Linked DNA regions of Homo sapiens: regions 2 and 3 are each linked to region 1. Evidence: promoter capture Hi-C in human tissues and cell types (Jung and others, 2019). All regions are on one chromosome and are shown on one strand. Each heading gives the region's core, a stretch centred on a gene start or on the middle of the fragment in contact. The rest is flanking DNA. Distances are from core to core; before and after follow the strand shown.

The links. Contacts are between HindIII fragments. The study calls those that stand out against the background at their distance.
Region 2: a fragment that was not itself captured here is called in contact with the fragment with the promoter of KLHL38 in region 1 in 1 of the 25 tissues and cell types used here (H1 embryonic stem cells).
Region 3: a fragment that was not itself captured here is called in contact with the fragment with the promoter of KLHL38 in region 1 in 1 of the 25 tissues and cell types used here (mesenchymal stem cells).

The regions. Positions count from the first base shown.
Region 1 is chr8:123,651,982-123,655,155 of GRCh38, reverse strand. KLHL38 (kelch like family member 38) reads left to right here and starts at 1,355. Exons shown (of 4, transcript NM_001081675.3): 1 at 1,355-1,570; 2 at 2,229-3,174. The coding sequence starts at 2,230. The HindIII fragment of the contact is 9,515 bases long and covers 1-3,174 here.
Region 2 is chr8:123,351,277-123,354,640 of GRCh38, reverse strand. All of the region lies in intron 13 of ATAD2 (ATPase family AAA domain containing 2), which reads left to right. It also overlaps the pseudogene DUTP2. Among named protein-coding and RNA genes, the nearest start is that of MIR548D1, 4.8 kb to the right of the region's middle. The HindIII fragment of the contact is 4,136 bases long and covers 1-3,364 here.
Region 3 is chr8:123,315,872-123,318,967 of GRCh38, reverse strand. No RefSeq gene overlaps it. Among named protein-coding and RNA genes, the nearest start is that of MIR548AA1, 31 kb to the left of the region's middle. The HindIII fragment of the contact is 9,728 bases long and covers 1-3,096 here.

The DNA of each region.
Region 1 (3,174 bases), core at 106-2,605:
GTCCCAAAGGCCAGGCCAGCCCAGCTTCCCCAACAGTGACCAGATGCATACAAGGATCTGTAAGTGTCTCATGGAGCTAGATTACCACACATGAGTGGCAGTAGACATGGTTCCAGAAGCAGACAGGACACCAGTCCGATTCTGGCTAAGGAGTCCTGCAGACATGGGGAGCCACTGAAGGGCCTGATGCTGGGGACTGGCAAATTCTGAGTTGCCTTCCCAGGGGCTGCTCCAGAGAAGACAGGGTGGATGTATTGGAGAGAGAAGTACTAGGAGCAAAGAAAAAAAAATGCATGGAAGACCATTGCACTAGTTGAGCAAGACGTTGAGTAGGAGACAAAGTCAGGCTTCCCTGCCTTTTGTGGCTAAGACAATCATGGACCTCCCTGAAGGCAGGGGCAGAACAGACCTGAGGTCCCCCTCACTCTCTCTCGTGATTCTGATTGTTATTGAAAGCTGCCTCCTACCACATCACTATCATCATTCCTCCCCCGATTCTCTACCTCCTGCTTCTTTTCCTCCTCCTCCTATTCCTCCTCCTCTTCTTCCTCCTCTCGTCTCTCTCCCTCCCTCTGTCCCTGCTTCTTCTTCCTCCTCATCCTCCTTCATCTTCTTTCTCTCTCTCCCTAAAGCAATATGCCTTGCCTCCTGCCTCTAGCTCAAGCTGCCAGACAAGACAAAATGGAAAAGTAAGACAGAAAAGGAAGTCTGAACTATAAAAAGCCAGCTGAAGAGCAATCAGCACGTGTCTGGGAGAGGCAGACGCGACAGGAGGAGCTCGGCCTTACCACTGTCAATCAGAGGTTCCTGAGTAAGGAGACCTGACAAAGGTTTGGGCCTTCAGGAGTCTGGAAACCCTGGGATGCTCAACAACAACAACAACAAAAAACAACAACTTTTGTCATGGATTTCATCACCTAGGATCCTGGAGGAGGAAATCACAGCTCTCCCCAGCGATCCCGCCAGGCAGATGGTGGGAAATAGAGATCCATTGAATAGCACCCACAGGCTCATGTTCCGGCTTCCCTTGTGACCACCTGCCACCTCCACTGTGGCCCAGAACCATCTTCAGTGACTCTCCACAGGTCACAGCAACCTGTTTACAGACGGCTAGAATTCCCAAGCACTTTTAGGACAGGGGACTCGGGATGGTTCCAAGCAGACAGCAAAGTCTTCTCTAAGAGAAGCCGCTCCTCCCGATCTATTTTTGCCGATGTAAACACTTGCCAAGGAAACGAGGCATGTGGGCATGCGCCGGCCCTGCAGGCCCTCGGGTTGCTGCAAAAGGCAACTGGAAAGTCACATGTCATAACAGTGGAAAGTACATATGCAACTATTCTTAGCCCTGGAATGTATACACTGTCTCCCTGCCCAGCAGTCCTTGCACAAAGCTCTAGAAAACTATGAAAGTGCCTTCAGCATAAACAAATCCAGAAATCTCCCAGGACAAATCATTTGCCAACTGAAAGAAAGGCCTGGGGTTTATGGTTTCCCTTGGAGCTAGAGGTAGAAACTCTCCGGGGGGATAAGTCAGACCAGGCACCAGTGGATGTCACCGCAGCAAAACAAGGTAAGTGTCCCTCATACTTATTTCTTCTGCAAGTAGAAAACCAGGTGTCATCCAATAAACCAGGGGATTGTTTGGTCTTTCCTTTTATTTATTCTATCTTTAAAACAAGACTCAATGAAGTCATATTTAAATATATGCATCAAAGGTCCATTTTCTTCCCTCATTTCTGTCCAGTGACCAGAGGGCCACACCTCCAGAATATCATCCTTGGGGAATGATTGACACCCAGAAAGAGAGGTTTAGACATCTGTTACTCAATAACAGATATGCCATCGATCTGGAAAAAGGCTCATGAACTTCTGCTGGTCAAATCCATGGACTGTTATCTTGCTTCAGACTAACATTTCAGCTTCTGATAACAGAGTAACTTCCAACAACTTTAGTTTGTTTGTTTGGTTGTTTCTCTCAGATTAGCTGAAGATACTATTTGCCTATTACTTTTGAAAATAACCATAACCCAAAAGGGCTCAGGTCTGAGATGTATGTGGCCTTCCTTTCCAATCTTCCCTACACAATATCCATGGTGACATCCGCAAACATCATGGGGAATGGAATAGGAGCACTGGTCTTGGAGTCCCCACAGCTGAACCCTCCAGCACATGCAGCTGAGAAAGGTTTGACTCTTGCTGACTCTGGGGGCTTCCTTCCCTCTTTGTAGGATGGACGAGGAGTCACTAGATGGGCTGCTCTTCAAAGACCACGACTTCTCTTCTGACTTGTTGAGGCAGCTCAACAGCTTAAGGCAAAGCAGGATCCTGACTGATGTGAGCATCTGTGCCGGTGCCCGGGAGATCCCCTGCCACCGCAACGTGCTGGCCTCCAGCAGCCCCTACTTCAGGGCTATGTTCTGCAGCAGCTTCCGGGAGAAGAGTGAAGCCAAAGTGCAGCTGAAAGGCATTGACCCCCCAACCCTGGACCAGATCGTCTCCTACGTGTATACGGGGGAGGCACATATTGCCACTGACAATGTCCTCCCCGTGATGGAGGCCGCCTCCATGCTACAGTTCCCCAAGCTGTTTGAGGCCTGCTCCTCGTACTTGCAGAGCCAGTTGGCCCCCAGCAACTGCCTGGGTATGATCAGACTCTCAGAAATCTTAAGCTGCGAGACCCTCAAGAAGAAAGCCAGGGAGGTGGCACTGACGTCCTTCCCAGAGGTGGCCGCATCGGCCGACCTGAAGGAGCTCTGTGCCTTGGAGTTGAGGGACTATCTCGGAGATGATGGGCTCTGTGGGGAGGAGGAAAAGGTGTTTGAGGCCCTCATGGTTTGGATCAAGCATGACCTCCAGGCCCGGAAGCGATACATGCAGGAACTGTTCAAGCAGGTCAGGCTGCAGTACATCCACCCAGCCTTCTTTCACCACTTCATCGCCAACGATGCCCTCCTGCAGTCCTCGCCTGCATGCCAGATCATCTTGGAGACCGCCAAGAGACAGATGTTCTCTTTGTGTGGCACCACCGTCCCAGACTGCAAACTCCTGTTGCATGTCCCTCCAAGAAACTCTTACCAAGATTTCCTCATCCTCTTGGGCGGAAGGAAGGACAGCCAGCAGACCACCAGGGACGTCCTACTGTACAGCAAACAGACCGGCCAATGGCAGAGCCTT
Region 2 (3,364 bases), core at 439-2,938, 300 kb after region 1:
TGAACTCCTGACCTCAGGTGATCAGCCCGCCTCAGCCTCCCAGAGTGCTGGGATTACAGATGTGAGCCACCGCACCCAGCCTGTTCTTTGTATTTTTAGCAGACACTGGGTTTCGCCATGTTGGCCAAGCTGGTCCTGAACTCCTGACTTTAGGTGATCCACCCGTCTCTGCCTCCCAAAGTGCTGGGATTACAGGCATGAGCCACCGCGCCTGGCCAAATATAGCTACATTTTTAAAAGAAATTTAGTATTCAAGTTATTTTAACCAAAAACTTAAAAATTCTGACAGAGTAAAAATGTATGTTAAATTAAGCTTTTTTAGAATTTAGCACATTGCATGTTGAAGATGATTAAACTGTATTCTGCACTTAATTTTAGTAATAATACTGTAGAATAATGCAAATAAGTAATTATGTGAATGTCATTAGGTAATAATATTTTCAACCTAAGAGAAAGAAGATACAAGTGTGAAATAAAGAAGTCAAATTACCCTAAATTGTTTTTTTTGAGACAAAGTCTTGCTCTGTCGCCCAGGCTGGAGTGCAGTAGCACAGTCTTGGCTCACTGCAACCTCTGCCTCCCGAGTTCAAGCAATTCTCCTGCCTCAGCCTCCCGAGTAGCTGGGATTACAGGCATGTACCAGCACACTTAGCTAATTTTTTGTATTTTTAGTAGAGACAGGGTTTCACCATGTTGGCCAGGCTGGTCTCGAACTCCTGATCTCAGGTGATCCACCTGCCTCAGCCTTCCAAAGTACTGGGATTACAGGCGTGAGCCACCCACTTGACCTGAAACCCTGATAGTCTTTACTTTGAATTGCAAATATCAATAGAAACTTGGGACAGAGTTTTTTGTTTTGTTTTGTTTTGTTTAAAGAAAAAAAAAATCCTAACTCTGGACACTTTAAACAGGCCTAGAAGCAATCACAATCCAGTAGCAATTAATGTCCATCCCTGAGTGTGGTCTCTAAATATTAGGACTCAGGAGAGATGGCGGATTGTAACACTGAAGCAGAAACGATCAAGACAAGCCTGGAATACTTTGTAATGCCTGAAAGCAATAAAAAAAAAAAATTACTGGAATCGTACCAGAATGACATAGGAGCCAATTTTGAGGGATCTCTCACTGGCTGAAGATGAAACAATTTGAGCATCAAAAATAGTGACTACAGTAGATAGAAATATATCAAATACCTAAAAAAAATCACTTTTTTATGTTGTTAGTTTTTTGTTGTTGTTGGTTTTGGTTTGGTTTGTTGTTGTTGTTGTTGTTGTTTTGTGACAGAGTCTCACTCTGTCACCCAGGCTGGAGTGCAGTGGTATGATCTTGGCTCACTGCAACCTCCACCTCCCAGGTTCAAGCTATTCTCGTGCCTCAGCCTCCCCAGTAGCTGGGATTACAGGCATGTGCCACCACTCCTGGCTAATTTTTGAACTTTTAGTAGAGACGGGGTTTTGCCATTTTGGCCAAGCTGGTCTTGAACTCCTGGCCTCAAGAGATCTACCTGCCTCAGCCTCCCAAAGTGCTGGGATTACAGGCGTGACCCACCACACAAGGCCTTGTTTTTGTTTTTTGAGACAGAATCTTACTCTGTTACCCAGGCTGGAGTGCAGTAGCATGATCACAACTCACTGCAGCCTTGATCTCCTGGGCTCAAGCAATCTTCCCACCTCAACTTCTCAGAACTACAGGCACACACTACCACACTCAGCTGGGTTTTGGTTGTTTGTTTGTTTGTTTTTTAGTAAAGATGAAGTCTCTGTTGCCCAGGTTGGTCTTGAACTCCTGAGCTCAAGTGATCCTCCCACCTCAGGCTCCCAAAGTGCTGGGATTACAGGCATGAGCCACCATGCCCAGCCACCATCAGTTTTTTGTTGTTGTTGTTGTTGTTGTTTTTGATTTTGTTTTTGTTGTTTTTTTTTTTAAAAGAAAACATCTTATTTGTAAAAAAAAAAAAGGTATGATTTCTTAATTTCTATTCTTGGCATAAATTTTCTTTCCAGTGCAACCAAAACTTACGGAACCCTCTTCAGCACTGTTATTCAGAACTTGGAGTTCTATTGCTGGATAAAAAATTCATTCACAAATAAGCTGTGCAATTCGATCACCTTGAAGTTTTGACTTCAAACTTTTCTTTGACAAAACACCAATGTTTCTCCTATAACCTTCATCTAAGATACCCAGCTCCTAAGTGTTGCAGCCAAGCCAAAATGTAGAGCTACTCTTCCATAATACCCAGAAGGAGCAGCTATCTGAATGTCTGATAGCTTCTTCCATAGGTGGTACTGTATAATCATATGCACTGTATAGGTCATAGCCCTCGGCCTGTGTGGACTCCCAGCTCCCAGGTTGAGTCCAGAACCAGGCAAGGTGGAGCTACATGCCCCACCCCACCCTCCTGTGCAAGCCAGACCCACTTGCCGGGGGAAATGACAGGTGTCTCTTTGGAGCAGGGCATGGCAGAGCAAGGAGGTGAGGGGAGGAGATAGCCACGAGAACCAGAAAGTGCAGAATGAGCCTCCTCCCCATCACCACCACCCCCGCCACTGCTGGCAGGGAACACACCAAGATCTTAAAAATCATCAGTTTTTAGGGCCGGGCACGGTGGCTCACACCTGTAATCCCAGCACTTTGGGAGGCCAAGGCGGGTGGATCACGAGGTCAGGAGATCGAGACCATCCTGGCTAACACGGTGAAACCCCATCTCTACTAAAAATACAAAAATATTAGCCAGGCATGGTGGCAGGTGCCTGTAGTCCCAGCTACTCGGGAGGTGGAGGCAGTAGAATGGCACGAACCCGGGAGGCGGAGCTTGCAGTCAGCTGAGATCGTGCCACTGCACTCCAGCCTGGGCGACACAGCCAGACTCCGTCTCAAAAAAAAAAAAAAAAACATCAGTTTTTAATAATGTTTTTAATTCAACTGGTCACCTAAGGTTGCTGAGTTATTATTTATTACTCTGAAAATTGATAAGAGGGAAAGAATCAAACATTTCTTCTTCCTGTCCTATACAGGCCATGATTGAGGGTAATTCAGCAGTTGATGAAGTAGTGTAGTTCTTTGTATAGGAAAATCACAGCTAATAAATGCAAAAGAAATGATTGAATCAGAAAGTCACCATTTTGCAGCCTCTTATGAAATAGTGGATCTAGACCTGTCGTTTTTTAACCAGGGATGATGCCATCCCCCTCCCCGAAGGGACAGATATCTAGAGACAGTTATGGTTGTCACAACTGGTGGGGGCAGCTACTTAGCATTTGGTAGATGAAGGCTGTTAAACATCTTACACGTACAGGACAGCTCTCCACAACAAATAATTATCTGGCCCAAAATGTCAGTAGTGCTAATTTGGGAAACCTTTATC
Region 3 (3,096 bases), core at 177-2,676, 340 kb after region 1:
TGTCTTTAAAAAAAAAAAAAAAATCAGCAGAGTTACAAGATAGAAAACATACTAAAATCAGTTGCATTTCTATACACTAGCAATGAACAGCCCAAAAGGAAAATTATGAAAGCAATTTTACTTATAATAACATCTAAAACAGTAAACACCTAGGAATAAATTTAACCAAGGATATATAAGAATTTAACATACTGATAACTACAAACTGTTGCCAAAAGAAATTAAGTAAGACCTAAATAAACGGAAAGACAGCCTGTATTCATGGTTTGGAAGACAGTACTGGTTAAGATGGCAGTAATCCCCAAAGCGACTACAGATTCAATGCAATTTCCATCAAAATCCCAATGGCCTTTTTTTGAAAAATAGGAAAGTAAATCCTAAAAATCATGATGTATTGCAAGGTACCCTGAATAGCCCAAAAAATCTTGAAAAAGGAGAGAACTCACTTCCTGACTTTGAAACTTACTACAAAGCTACATATATTAAAGCAGTATAATACAGGCATAAGGTTAGACATATAGGTCAATGGAATAGAAAGTCCAGAAATCAATATATCTATGGTCACTTGATTTTCAACAAGAGTGCCCACATCTATTCAATAGGAAAGAACCATTTCTTCAACAGATGGTGCTGGAACAACTGGATATTCACATGCAAAAGAATGAAGTTAGATCCCTATCTGAGAATAGCTAATGTGTGCTGGGCTTAATACCTAGGTAATGGGTTGATGTGTGCAGCAAACCACCATGGCACTCGTTTACCTGTGTAACAAACCTGCACATCTTGCACATTTACCCCAGAACTTAAAAGTTGATTTAAAAAAAAAACAACAACAAAATGGATTAAAGACCTAAGTTGAATAGCTAAAAGTAAAATTCTTAGAAGAAAACAAGGACATTTTCATGACCTTGAGTTTGGCAGTTAGATAAATTGGACTTCATCAAAATTTTAAAACTTTGTGCTTCAACAAATAATGTATATAACTCCTAAAACTCAACAACAAAAAGACAACCCAATGGATGTGGATATTTTTGATGACATTAACAATATTTAGGATACCAGGCAAATATTTTGGAAGATAGCTATTTTGGAATAGTCTAATGTTTTTCTCATGACCAGACCAGGACTATGGGTTTGGGGAAGGAAGGCAAAGTGGTCATATCAAGGTTGCCTACTAGTGATGTGATTCTTGACTATTGGTTGACTTTGATCACCAAGTTAAGTAGTATTTCTCAGGTTTCTCCACCGAAAAATTAATCTTTTCTGAACTATACTTCTCTCTTTTGAACTGTACTCTGAAAAGAAGTCACACAATGAACAGCCCACTCTTAAGGAGTGAGGAGTTACACTCTGCCATTTATTTTTAGGCCAGTTCTATCAGTGATCCCTAAATGTACACATTGTAGAGTTAATTGAGCTTATTTTAGACTCGTGTCTTCTCCCTACTACTCCCCACCTTATATACAGAGTATTTTATTGTTCAAAGTAATGTAATTAAGAGATTGCTCCCTGACATTGAGGAAAAGATTGCCAACTTGCCTCCTAATATCCATTCTTCCGTTATTTGTAACAAAGTCCCATTTGGAAAGTTATGTTTCATCCATTGCAGCAAAATATGGCCACGTGACTAAATTCTAGCCAATGAGATAGGGAATTGCACACAGTTTCTAGGAAAGCTCTCTGGAAGGGCAAGGATGAGAGTACTTTCTGCCTTCTGAGCTTCCTATACACACACACATATACACATATATACAGTTAAGAAGCATCTGTATGTGTGTGTGCATGATAATTTTAGGGAATTGCTGTTCAGTATCCTTGAGTGGATCTCTGTTACTGATAGTGGAATGTAATTCTTAACCAGTAAAAGCATATAAAATAAATATGTATTTTTTTCAACTTTCATTTACTATAAGCAGCAGATCCTGAGCAAGGCCTTTAGAGACCCTCAAGCATAAAAAATATTGTCTCCAATTCTTACATGTATTTTTTAATTTATTGTTAACATCTTTATTGAGGTATAATTTATATATCATAAAATTCACTGATCTTAACAGTACAATTTAATGATTGTTAATTTACAGAGTTGTGCAACTATCAGCATGAATCAGTTTTAGAACATTTCCATCTCCCCAAAAGAGAGATTTCCAGTCTCTTCCTCGTGCCCATTTGCAGTCAGGCCTCCTACCCCCAACCCCAGGCATTCCCTAACCTACTTTCTGTCTCTATAGATTTGCATTTTCTGGACAGTTCCTGTAAATGAAATAATATATAGTCTTTTACATCTGGATTCTTTCACTTAACATAATGTTTTTGAAATTCATCAGTGTTGTAGCATGTATCAGTAATTTGGTTTTTTTTTTTTTTTTAAATTTATTTATTTATTTTTTATTGATAATTCTTGGGTGTTTCTCACAGAGGGGGATTTGGCAGGGTCATAGGACAATAGTGGAGGGAAGGTCAGCAGATAAACAAGTGAACAAAGGTCTCTGGTTTTCCTAGGCAGAGGACCCTGCGGCCTTCCGCAGTGTTTGTGTCCCTGGGTACTTGAGATTAGGGAGTGGTGATGACTCTTAACGAGCACGCTGCCTTCAAGCATCTGTTTAACAAAGCACATCTTGCACCGCCCTTAATCCATTCAACCCTGAGTGGACACAGCACATGTTTCAGAGAGCACAGGGTTGGAGGTAAGGTCACAGATCAACAGGATCCCAAGGCAGAAGAATTTTTCTTAGTACAGAACAAAATGAAAAGTCTCCCATGTCTACTTCTTCCTACACAGACACGGCAACCATCCGATTTCTCAATCTTTTCCCCACCTTTCCTGCCTTTCTATTCCACAAAGCCGCCATTGTCATCCTGGCCCGTTCTCAATGAGCTGTTGGGTACACCTCCCAGACGGGGTGGTGGCCGGGCAGAGGGGCTCCTCACTTCCCAGTAGGGGCGGCCGGGCAGAGGCGCCCCTCACCTCCCGGATGGGGGGGCTGGCCGGGCGGGGGGCTGACCCCCCACCTCCCTCCCGGACGGGGCGGCTGGCCGGGCGGGGGGCTGACCCCCCCACCTCCCTCCCGGACGGGGCGGCTGGCCGGGCAGAGGGGC